Regions from separate parts of the Homo sapiens genome. Here region 1 is linked to region 2. Evidence: promoter capture Hi-C in human tissues and cell types (Jung and others, 2019). All regions are on one chromosome and are shown on one strand. The core of a region is centred on a gene start or on the middle of the fragment in contact, and the rest is flanking DNA. Distances in the headings are between cores, read along the strand shown. Region 1 has its middle 28 kb from the start of SIK2. Region 2 holds the start of TIMM8B (translocase of inner mitochondrial membrane 8 homolog B).

Evidence for each region. The method cuts DNA at HindIII sites, captures the fragments that hold promoters and counts their contacts. A contact is called where the count stands out against the background at its distance.
Region 1: a contact is called between a fragment that was not itself captured here and the fragment with the promoter of TIMM8B in region 2, in 1 of the 25 tissues and cell types used here (aorta).

Annotation. Positions count from the first base shown.
Region 1 is chr11:111,571,574-111,576,727 of GRCh38, reverse strand. No RefSeq gene overlaps it. Among named protein-coding and RNA genes, the nearest start is that of SIK2, 28 kb to the left of the region's middle. The HindIII fragment of the contact is 7,597 bases long and covers 1-5,154 here.
Region 2 is chr11:112,083,020-112,088,005 of GRCh38, reverse strand. TIMM8B (translocase of inner mitochondrial membrane 8 homolog B) reads left to right here and starts at 1,250. Exons shown (of 2, transcript NM_012459.4): 1 at 1,250-1,366; 2 at 2,544-3,206. The coding sequence starts at 1,283. The coding sequence ends at 2,711. It overlaps SDHD (succinate dehydrogenase complex subunit D), which reads right to left and starts at 1,133. Exons shown (of 4, transcript NM_003002.4): 1 at 1,047-1,133; 2 at 33-149. The coding sequence starts at 1,098. It overlaps NKAPD1 (NKAP domain containing 1), which reads right to left. Exons shown (of 6, transcript NM_018195.4): 6 at 2,856-4,986. RefSeq lists enhancers at 1-169, 863-1,132, 496-1,695. The HindIII fragment of the contact is 14,912 bases long and covers 1-4,378 here.

The DNA.
Region 1 (5,154 bases), core at 1,938-4,437, 510 kb after region 2:
TTTAAAAATACTTGTACATTATGTCTCATTTTTCTTATTGTAGATACTATTAATTATTATAGTAAATTAACCCAAGCCATTCAGTCTTGTCGTCAACAGGTAGTTTCTTCTTTTCCTTTGCAATTATCTAAACACCCTTGATATTAATCAATAAATTAATAATGGAGTCTCTGGAAGAAACATCAAGGGGATCATAACCTCAGCAATGGCCTCAAATAGGTTCTTTTAACTATTGACACTAAATGGAACAGATTCATGGACACAGGCTTTCCAGTATAAGCTGACACTGTCACCTGAAGCCCATGGTTGGACTGTGTGACTGAGCATTTCTAGGACCTTTTATTTAGTCTAAAAGCAGATGACTTTGTGATAGTAGGGTTACTTAAACCAAGTTCAGAAAACAAGAATTAATGATGCAGGATGGAAAGAAATTAAGATGAAAATTCACTTGGGGCTAATCTATATTCTGTTTGGCAAATGAGAACAACACCCCTTTTCTTTCTTCTTGATCTATCACTAATTCTCGATTTAATAAACAAACCCTGTACGAAGTGGAACAAAACATTCTTTAAATGGTATCTCATTACAACTGATGTCTCAGAATTCAGAAAAAAAATCTATAAAATATCTTAGGGTATAGATTATAAGTGAATAAATAAGAGAAAAATCTAAGAAAACTGATTCTGAGAAAGAGTGACACACATTGATTGGCTTGTCTGTAAAACTGCATGTAACAGTGGTTATTATTGAAGTGCCATTTGTTGCTTCACTTTATTTTTTATGACCATGTCATTATTTACATAGGGTCAGTACACCTCTGTCTTGGGATATGGTTAGATAAAGAAAATTTGTCACGTTACCATGCAAGAAATGTCACATTTTAAAACAAGTCTGACTTAATGAGGCACGACAAGCTGACTTTAAGAAACAGGGACTGGGCCGGGCGCGGTGGCTCACGCATGTAATCTCAGCACTTTGAGAGGCTGAGGCAGGAGAATGGCTTGAACCCAGGAGGTAGAGGTTGCAGTGAGCCAAAATTGCACCATTGCACTCCAGCCTCAAGAGCAAAACTCCATCCCCCCTCACCCCCCCCCCCCCCAAAAATAAGACACAGGGACTGTACTTGATATGTGGAAATGATGCCCACAACATCCTCCCAGGAAACTTACCTTGTACCTGCTCTCTGGCTAGTGAAATCTCAGCCTTACAGTTAGTAACGAATGCCACTTGCTGACATAGCAGGAACATTGACAGACTTGGGGACCTCAGAGAAGGAAGGACGTCCTAGTTATGTAGTTCTTGAGGAAAAGCGTGGTCCGGGCAAACTGGATGCCTTTTTTCTCCTAGACCTAGAAAGGACAAGCTGATTGAGAACAGCAATTCAAAATCATCTGCGAAACTGATGTGATCAAAATCTGACTAGGGGCTTTGTGAAGCCTCTAGACAGAATTTAATTCTCCAATCCTTCGTATTTTAAGGCTTTAATTTTTAAAACCATACAGCAAAGAAATCTCCTAGTGTTAATCCACACCTTTTGTAGCAACTATATAAATTTAATTGGTCAAAGAGAAAAACCCATCAAGTTAATAATATGGATCAGAACATTTCTGAACAAACCCGTGTAGTCAAATTATCTACACTTCTGGCAGCCCCTGGCCAGAAGGAGGGGCTAAGGAAGCATGAATGATATCTTGCCTTGCTGCTGTCTTCACTTAGCACATTATATAGCAGTCACACACAAAACAAAAAACCCATCCCTGCCCCCGCAAAACCCCAAACACTTGACTTTCTTAAAAATACTAAAACAGGCAGAAACACCCTAACACTTTTCTCTAAATGAAGACCATGCCCTTTTTGTAATCTGCTACCCTAATGCAAACAATTTAATTCCTGATTGAATGGCGTGAACCCAGGAAGCAGAGGTTGCAGTGAGCCGAGACTGCACCACTGCACTCCAGCCTGGGCGACAGAGCGACTCTGTCTCAAAAAAAAAATAAAAAAAAAATTAATTCCTGATTTTGCAATATTAATATCAACATATAGGTGATAACCTTTGCAGATAGTGTAGTCATGTGAGGAACAGACTAACTGTACACTTGGTAACCTCTTGTGTTTTTCTCTAAAAGCCTGCTGTGTTCTTTGTTTAGATAGCCCAGTTGTTCTGAAGTATGATCTGCCTTACAGAATAGTGAAAGTAAAAATTATTTTCTTAATAGTTTTGTGTCTGAGTTCTCCTTTCACAATTGATAGTTGTCAAAGCTGGGTGAACGGTACTTCAGATCCTTTTAATCTTCTCTATAATTTTGTATATGTTCTTAAATTTCCACAATAAAAAATTAAAATTGTATATCAGGGCTATGCTATGTATCAAAGAGATATTGTCAGTGCTTTCCTATAAAGACACAAGACTTAGTCTAATTTTAACTAGTTTCCAAACTTAAAGGCTGTATTGAGGCTGTATTCAGTTTTAAAGCACGTGCAGCTAGTAGACATGACGAACCATCCCAAAGATAGTACTGCAGTTGGCAGCCTAGGAGCAAGGAAAGGTATCTTGTGTGGTTGTGTAGCTGGTGTTTTCTGACCTCACTAGTGAGGTTAGAGTCCTCAATGTTAAGCAGCAATGAAGGGAGCCAGAGTTTCCATGTTATTTGCTGCATTCAGCGTGCATGTCAAAAATAGATCCAAAAGCTATGGCAACTGAAAAATATTTGTTTTAATCAGTGTTTGGGAAACAAATGCTGGTATTTGGCTTCAGGGTTGGCTTCTTCAGCACTGATATTGGCAGATCCAATTCACAATAAAGTCCTACAGCACTTCTGTTTTTTTTTAAAATCCCATATGGACTTAATCTGTAAAACCTCCTGGCACATTTGCACGTTTTGGTTTCCTGGGAGGTTCCCGTGGATTTGTTTAACTCTGGTATCATGATTCTTTACTGTATGTTCCCTTGAAGTATAGGAAGAAAGAACACACTTGTTACATTTTTGTCATTTATATATTTAACAAATATTTATTGATCTCCTGTTGTGTGCAAGGCACTATTCTAGGCATTCTGGAAAGATACAAAAATGAATCAGGCAAATATGGTGATTTCAATTTACTTTCAACCCAATAAGGAAGACAAATTGTGGGCCAGGCATTGAATTAGGTGCTGGGGGTGCAGAGGTGAACAAAGTTCCTGACTTCATGTTGCTCCTTGAAATTAAGACAGATAAATACAGGGGTTAGAGAAGGGCTAATGGAGAAAATAACCCTGAAGCCAAGCTGTAAAAGACAAATTAGAGTTCAGACAAAGCAGAATGGGGCAGAAGGTATACTGTAAGAAAGGGAGCAGCAGATACACATAGGGGTCCTGGGATGGAAAATAGCCTGTATCCAGTTTATTTGAAGATCCAGTTTCTTTGCAGAGTCTTAGAATGGACTGGACTTTGGAGATAGAGTTATAGGAACCAAACTCATAATAGTGGGGTTTTTTTTTTGTTTGGTTTTGTTTTTGAGATGGGAGTTTTGCTCTTGTGGCCCAGGCTGGAGTGTAGCAGTGCAATCTCAGCTCACTACAACCTCCGCCTCCCTGGTTCAAGTGATTCTTCTGCCTCAGCCTCCCAAGTAGCTGGGATTGGAGGCACCCACCACCAAGCCCAGCTAATTTTTGTATTTTAGTAGAGACAGGTTTCACCATGTTGGCCAGGCTGGTCTCTAACTCCTGACCTCAGGTGATCCACCCGCCTTGGCCTCCAAAAGTGCTGGGATTACAGACGTGAGTCACTGCGCCTGGGCTCATAGTGGTGTCTATAATGAAATAAGTATCATGCAGACCAAAGCACCTATGTCCTATTTCCTTTTGTATTGTTAGATCTATGCAAGAAGCTTATTTATGTTTATAACATTGCCTTTGCAATCTTGCATCAGAATTGGGGGCTAGTTGCATGATTCAGAGGTTCCTGGTCTGTGATTGCTGATGCATGCATCTCTGCAATACACAGGGCGCTACCATTGGGAATAGATTGGCTAAAATTTGAGGGCCTTGTCCCTTAAGTAGTGTTGGAGGTACACATTGATTGCCATATTTTTTGTTTTTTTGTGACTCCCTACACTTGAATGTCTCCTTATAACTTTCAGGATTGTATCAGTTAGGGTCTTGTCAGAAAACGGAATTCATTTCGGATGGTTCAGAGGAAGAGAAGAGACTTTAATGAAAGTACCACTTGCAGATATATGGATAGGGTTAAGGAAGCAAACTATGGATGAGTTTGTTAGCAGCAGTAGGAAGCTGTTACCACCCTAGAAGGGGACAAGAAGAAAAAGTAGAGTTACTGGATTATAGTGAGAGCTAGAGAAAGGGCCAACTGGTGGAGACTGAACTGCAGAGGGTGCAACTACTGCTATTGATATGAAAGGAAAGCAGAAGCAATACCATAACCTTTCTTTCACTCCTCCTGCCCACAGCGGACCTGCTGGAGCCTCTCTTGCCCAAATCGTACAGGAAACCATCTGGCAAGGGAGCTGGGTGGTGCAGTCTGCAGGGGTCATCCTGCTAGGGCACAGAGCAGGTCAGAGTAGGATAGAAAATGGATGTGGGCAGGGATTTGGTGAGAGACGGTAAATAACGAATAATCAGCCTGGGCTGAAGTCCAAATTCCTCAGCAAGGCTTATGAATCATTTACTATCAAGCTCCTTGTAGCCCCTTCCGTCTTGTTCCCCCTCACCCTTTGCCACTCACCCACCCAACACTCCCAGCTCAATCATGCTGAACTGTTTGAAATTCTGCTTAGGTGCCACATTCTCACTTTGGGCATCCCCTCCTCCAGGAAGTATCTGCATCCTGGGCTCGCCCATATCCCTATCACAGCCCTATCATCATGTAAGTCATTGATGTTAATCTGGGTTTTTACTATATAACTGCCATGAGGGTAGAAGCTGTATCTTATTCACCATTGCACATACCCACTGTCAAGCACAGTAACTGTCATTTAGCAGGTGCTCAGTACGTATTTGTTGATTCACTGAATAGACACATGAATACCATTTACTCTGCAGCAACTACAGACCTAAGCCAGGCTTCACCTGCGGGTCATGCTCAGATGTCTTGGAGACACTTTTTCAGTTGCAAGTCATTGTCCATGTACAAATGGATTTCCATGGTTAAATTCTCA
Region 2 (4,986 bases), core at 1-2,500:
CCCAGAAAGCAGCAGCGATGGAGAGAACATACAATGGTGGCTCGGTGACAAGTGTATGTGCTGCACTCCACACCATTCTGGGATAGGTCGGTCCTGAAGAAATGCTGAGATATGAGCAGGTCTGACCACTGGAGTTCGAAGCAACAGAGCTGAGGAAAGAGTCATTAGGATGATCATAAGAACCTCTCCTTTAACAGGACTGACAAACTTTCTAAATGACCATAGGTAAGCTACTTAACAATAAATAGGGGATAACATCTTATTTGTAAAATGAAGATAGCATCTATTTCACTGGGGTTACTGTGAAGTTAAGACCAGGGAACATCTGCATGTTCCCTACTTTATTTAATGACACCTCAGGCATTCTTTAACCTAACTCAGTAATCTGGAAATCATGAGAGACTTTTCCCCTAAATTCAATCGCCAAATCCTATTGGCGTATCTCTTTAACAGTTCTTGAGACAATCTTCTTTTCTTTGTGCTACTTTCCTAGTTCAGGACCTCATCTTGCCCGGACTACTATGACAGTGTTTTCCTCATCAGAATGAAAGCTCGTTGAGGGCGGGAACTACGTTTTCTTCACATTTGTATCCTAGCATTACTACAGTACCTGAGGTAACACAAATGCCCAGGTTAAATGATTTTCGAACTGATCCCCCCTCCACTCCCACATCCAAACACACCAACTCCAGAAGAAATGGGCAAGCTCCTAACCCTCTTTCCCGACTCAGGGTGGGAGCGAGTGGGGAGCATTCTAGGGACAGTGAACGGGGAGAAAACAGAACTGCTATGTGGATTAGCCTCATCAGGACTGCGACTTCCAGAGGGAGCTCTCTTTCTGATTATTCCCTCAACTCGTCAGCTCACAGCAAGTGAAATATACCTTCGGGTAAACATCTGGACCCCTAGACTACAGTGGTCATTGCTGTGATTTCGGTATTTTCTTCTCCTCAAGAGATCTCCCACCCGGCAGATGAGTCCTCACTTCCATCCCCTTCCCTGGCTGGAGGCTACGCTAAGCACCTCAGGGTGGGAAGACCCCTCACCTCGGCCTCCTAGGGCACCGCAAACGGCACTCAGCCTCCAGAGAACCGCCATCTCGTTCCTGAGGGCTCAAGGTCATCCACCAACCCGGAACCACTTAGGCGACAATTCCCACCCACGACGACGAAAGAAAACAGGGAAGAGGAAATGCTGGGTGAACCGGAAGTCGAGAGGCGGTGCACACCCGTCGCGCATGCGCAAACACAGCTGTCGGAAGGTGGCGAGCCTGAGGCGAACAATGGCGGAGCTGGGCGAAGCCGATGAAGCGGAGTTGCAGCGCCTGGTGGCCGCCGAGCAGCAGAAGGCGCAGTTTACTGCACAGGTGCGGGGACGGGGAGGGTGAAGGGAAAGGAAGTTTCACCTTCCTTGGTGGTCCTGGGCACGCTCGGAGGTCTGTACACTGGCGGCTCACTGGTGCTCGATCCCGGCTGCATCCCATTCCCCTCACGAAAGACAAAGTTATGGCTCTCCTGTCCCTGGTGACCGGTAGTGCTCAGGTGCCAGGTATATAAGCGTAGCGTGGAGAAAAGAAAAGGTGTAAAACAGGGAAGATTTGGGCGACGCAAGGGTACGGGAGACTAGTTAGCCGGCGACATGACTGGGCTGGCATTCGAAAGATCTGGGTTCTCATCCTCCCTCTGCTCCTTGCAGGCCACGTGCCCGTAGAAAAGATACTCATCCACTGTGGGTTTTGGTGTCGCCGTCACCCCACTGCCTCACTGGATTGTGAGGATCATATGCGACAATGTATTTGAAAACGACTAGAACATTATCGGAGGAAGGTGGACTCTGAAGTAGTCGCTGTAGACTATGGATGTAGAACAAGGGTTTGGAGCCCTTCGGACATGGTTCTAACGCGGCCTGACTTCTTGCTGGCTACATGACCTTGGACTACATAATCACGCCTCTTAAATGGGAGGTGATGACAGCTATCCTTGAGGACCTTAGAGAGAACTGATTTCTTAGTACCCAGCCTCACAAATAGTAAGCTCTTGGTAAAATGGTTTTTTCCTTTTGGGTGGGAGGAAGAGGGTGCTCGGATGACCAGCAAGAACCCTGGCTAGAAATCTTTGGGCCCTGAACATTCTAATGACAGTGCACATAATTTCTGTGCCTGTATGTGCATTTTTCTGGGGAGTGGATCCATAACCCCCAAAAGGTTAATGGAAGAATTACCTTGTCTAGGGGATAGGTTTGGAATAAAATGAGTGCAATAGTTTGGGAAAATTAATTGGTTCCCTAGTTGGTTCACAATGGTGCTAGCTACTTTGGGGAATATAAAAGGTTATTAGTCCTACCTGAGAATGTACAATCTGTAGGGACGAGGATCTGGATCAATATTGGTGACTAATTAGGAAATGAAGAAAGAGAAGAGCCCAAAGTGACTCCGTGGTTGATTTAAAGAATGGTTTTGTCAGGTGTCAAAAAGTGAGAAGTTAATAAACAAGAGTTAGGCCTATCTGCAGACCCCAATGGTTACTATTTTTCTTTCCTTTTAGGTGCATCACTTCATGGAGTTATGTTGGGATAAATGTGTGGAGAAGCCAGGGAATCGCCTAGACTCTCGCACTGAAAATTGTCTCTCCAGCTGTGTAGACCGCTTCATTGACACCACTCTTGCCATCACCAGTCGGTTTGCCCAGATTGTACAGAAAGGAGGGCAGTAGGCCATCCCCCAGGAGAATGACAGAAGCAAAGGACTTGTTACTAAGCAGATTTAAGGGTCAGTGGGGGAAGGCTATCAACCCATTGTCAGATCAGCATCAGGCTGTTATCAAGTCTGTTGGTGCTAAAAAGTAAAAGATGAAATGTTCAAAGAGTGAAATTTATTTATTTGGAATTCAGAAATTCCAGGTTGTATGACATCAGTTACTCAATAAGTGTGAATTCTCCAACTCTTCTTTTAATCCCATTTTAGAATTTAATATAGAGATCTCTGATTGGCAGGAACACTAGAAATAAATGTTCCATGGCCAGTAGTGCAAATGGGGGATTGTAGGTTTTGAAAAACCACCCTAAGCCATATTAAGGGGGTTGGAAGAACCATCGAAGCCTAAGGCATAGAAGAAAATTTGGGGTTAAGAAAGATGAAGAACAAAAAACAGCTTTATTGCTTATACATGACCAAGAAAAGGAAAACATGGCAAAAAAAAAAAAAAAAAGGCAAGATGTGTATTCCTTGCGAAAGAACAAGCCTGCTAACTTGGGAGGAAGGGAAGGTCAGGACCCAAATAGAGCCAATTTCCTGGAGATGGCCTGTTCTACTGGCACATTTTCCTGAGTCTGTGCTTAAAACCTTTCAGGTACTTTCAGGGCACAGAAACAATGCATGCTAAAAAATATATGGCCAAAGCTCCTTCCAACAAAGATTTAACTTGCTCCAGGAACAAAATAATTGCTTTAGGTTAAGAGGTAGTAATTAGAGACTATTCTTCTCCCTTTAGACCCCCACTAATCCCAAAAATAAAAATACACACCATGGAACACTGACAATTGAGTACCAAAGTATTAAAATTTAAAATAAATATCCCAAAAGGTAGCACCTGCTCATAGTTAAGGGATAGGGCACCTCTGTCCAACCATGTATTTTAAGACCAAGCACTTTATTAGAAATCTGTCCCGTAAAGAGAACAAATTTAGCAGTTAGAACTAAAAATACCAACTCATGGAATGTCATCATAGTTGTATCTACTGCTGGTGTCTTATACTGTCATGCTACTGTGAAGTAATTCCGTATTACACATCAGGAAAGTAAGGCCAGGAAGGTGAACTTACCTGCTCTGGGCCTCCTCATAACCAATGAGTGGCAGAACCAAGACCGAAAGTCTGAGTTTTCAAGCTTTTTACTCAGCCCATTAAGTGACAACCAGGAAAAAATAATACGTCACTTGATCTTTCTTCCCACAGTGAAAAAATGCACTTGCGTTCTGCCAGCCTTCTTTCAGTGATATGTTGGTTTCTTAAGAATTAACATACTAAGGATCACAGTATAGCAAAGGGAATTAATGTGGTCTCTGCTTGGTGCTTTAATCCAAAGGCAGACTGGGAAGAAGTGGATATGTCCCTGAGAAGCCTGTTTCATTTTGGAAATAATTCAACTTAGTTTCAGGGAAAACCTAAACTTCATGAACAGATTTAGAAATGAACAAGACAACATTTAAATGGCAGTTGCTGCCCTGAATCCAGAGTACCATTAGACAACATGATTATTTCCTAATTCTTCCCCATTTGGTACAGGATTATCTATGACAATTGAAGAAATAATTTGAACACAAGTCCATTTAGGCAAATATACAGCAATGGAACTAGAAAACCATTTACTATCCAATTACCATGTTTAGGCATATACTAAGTATAGCTATAGGCCCCATCCAGCAGGGAAATTTGCAAAAACTCTAGTCCCTTCTAATAAGTTGTCTATGGATGTTATCATGAAGGGAAAAGGTTTGTTCTTAGGCCCATGTCCTGATTAAGTAAACCGGACCACACCTGTGGGGTCAAAATATAGAAGGATCAAAGCACCAAGGCTAAAGACAAGTTAGTTGTGACACCTGCTATATAAACAGAGAGCAATACAGTGTTGCCTTGTCATACCATCCTACATGGCATTAGTTCCAATCCACCTCTTGATCCCAGCCCTTGACTTCCCCAAATTCAATATTCCGATTGGTGTACCCAGGTCACTATTGGATCCAGCTTTCTGGGTCCTTTAATTTGCTGTATATGCACTCTACACTAAACGTAATTAATTGCAAAAAAAAATAATCTCTTCAAGAAACCTTCATAACAAAATACCAGATTCCCTTTTAACAAGAAAAGGGGATCAAGCTTAACGCCAAAATAGAAGACAAGACGTCTGTCAGAACATACAGATGGCACAAGACAGCTCTGACCTCAGGCCCCGTGCTGAACAAGAGTCACTGGCAAAACCACAAGGAGTAA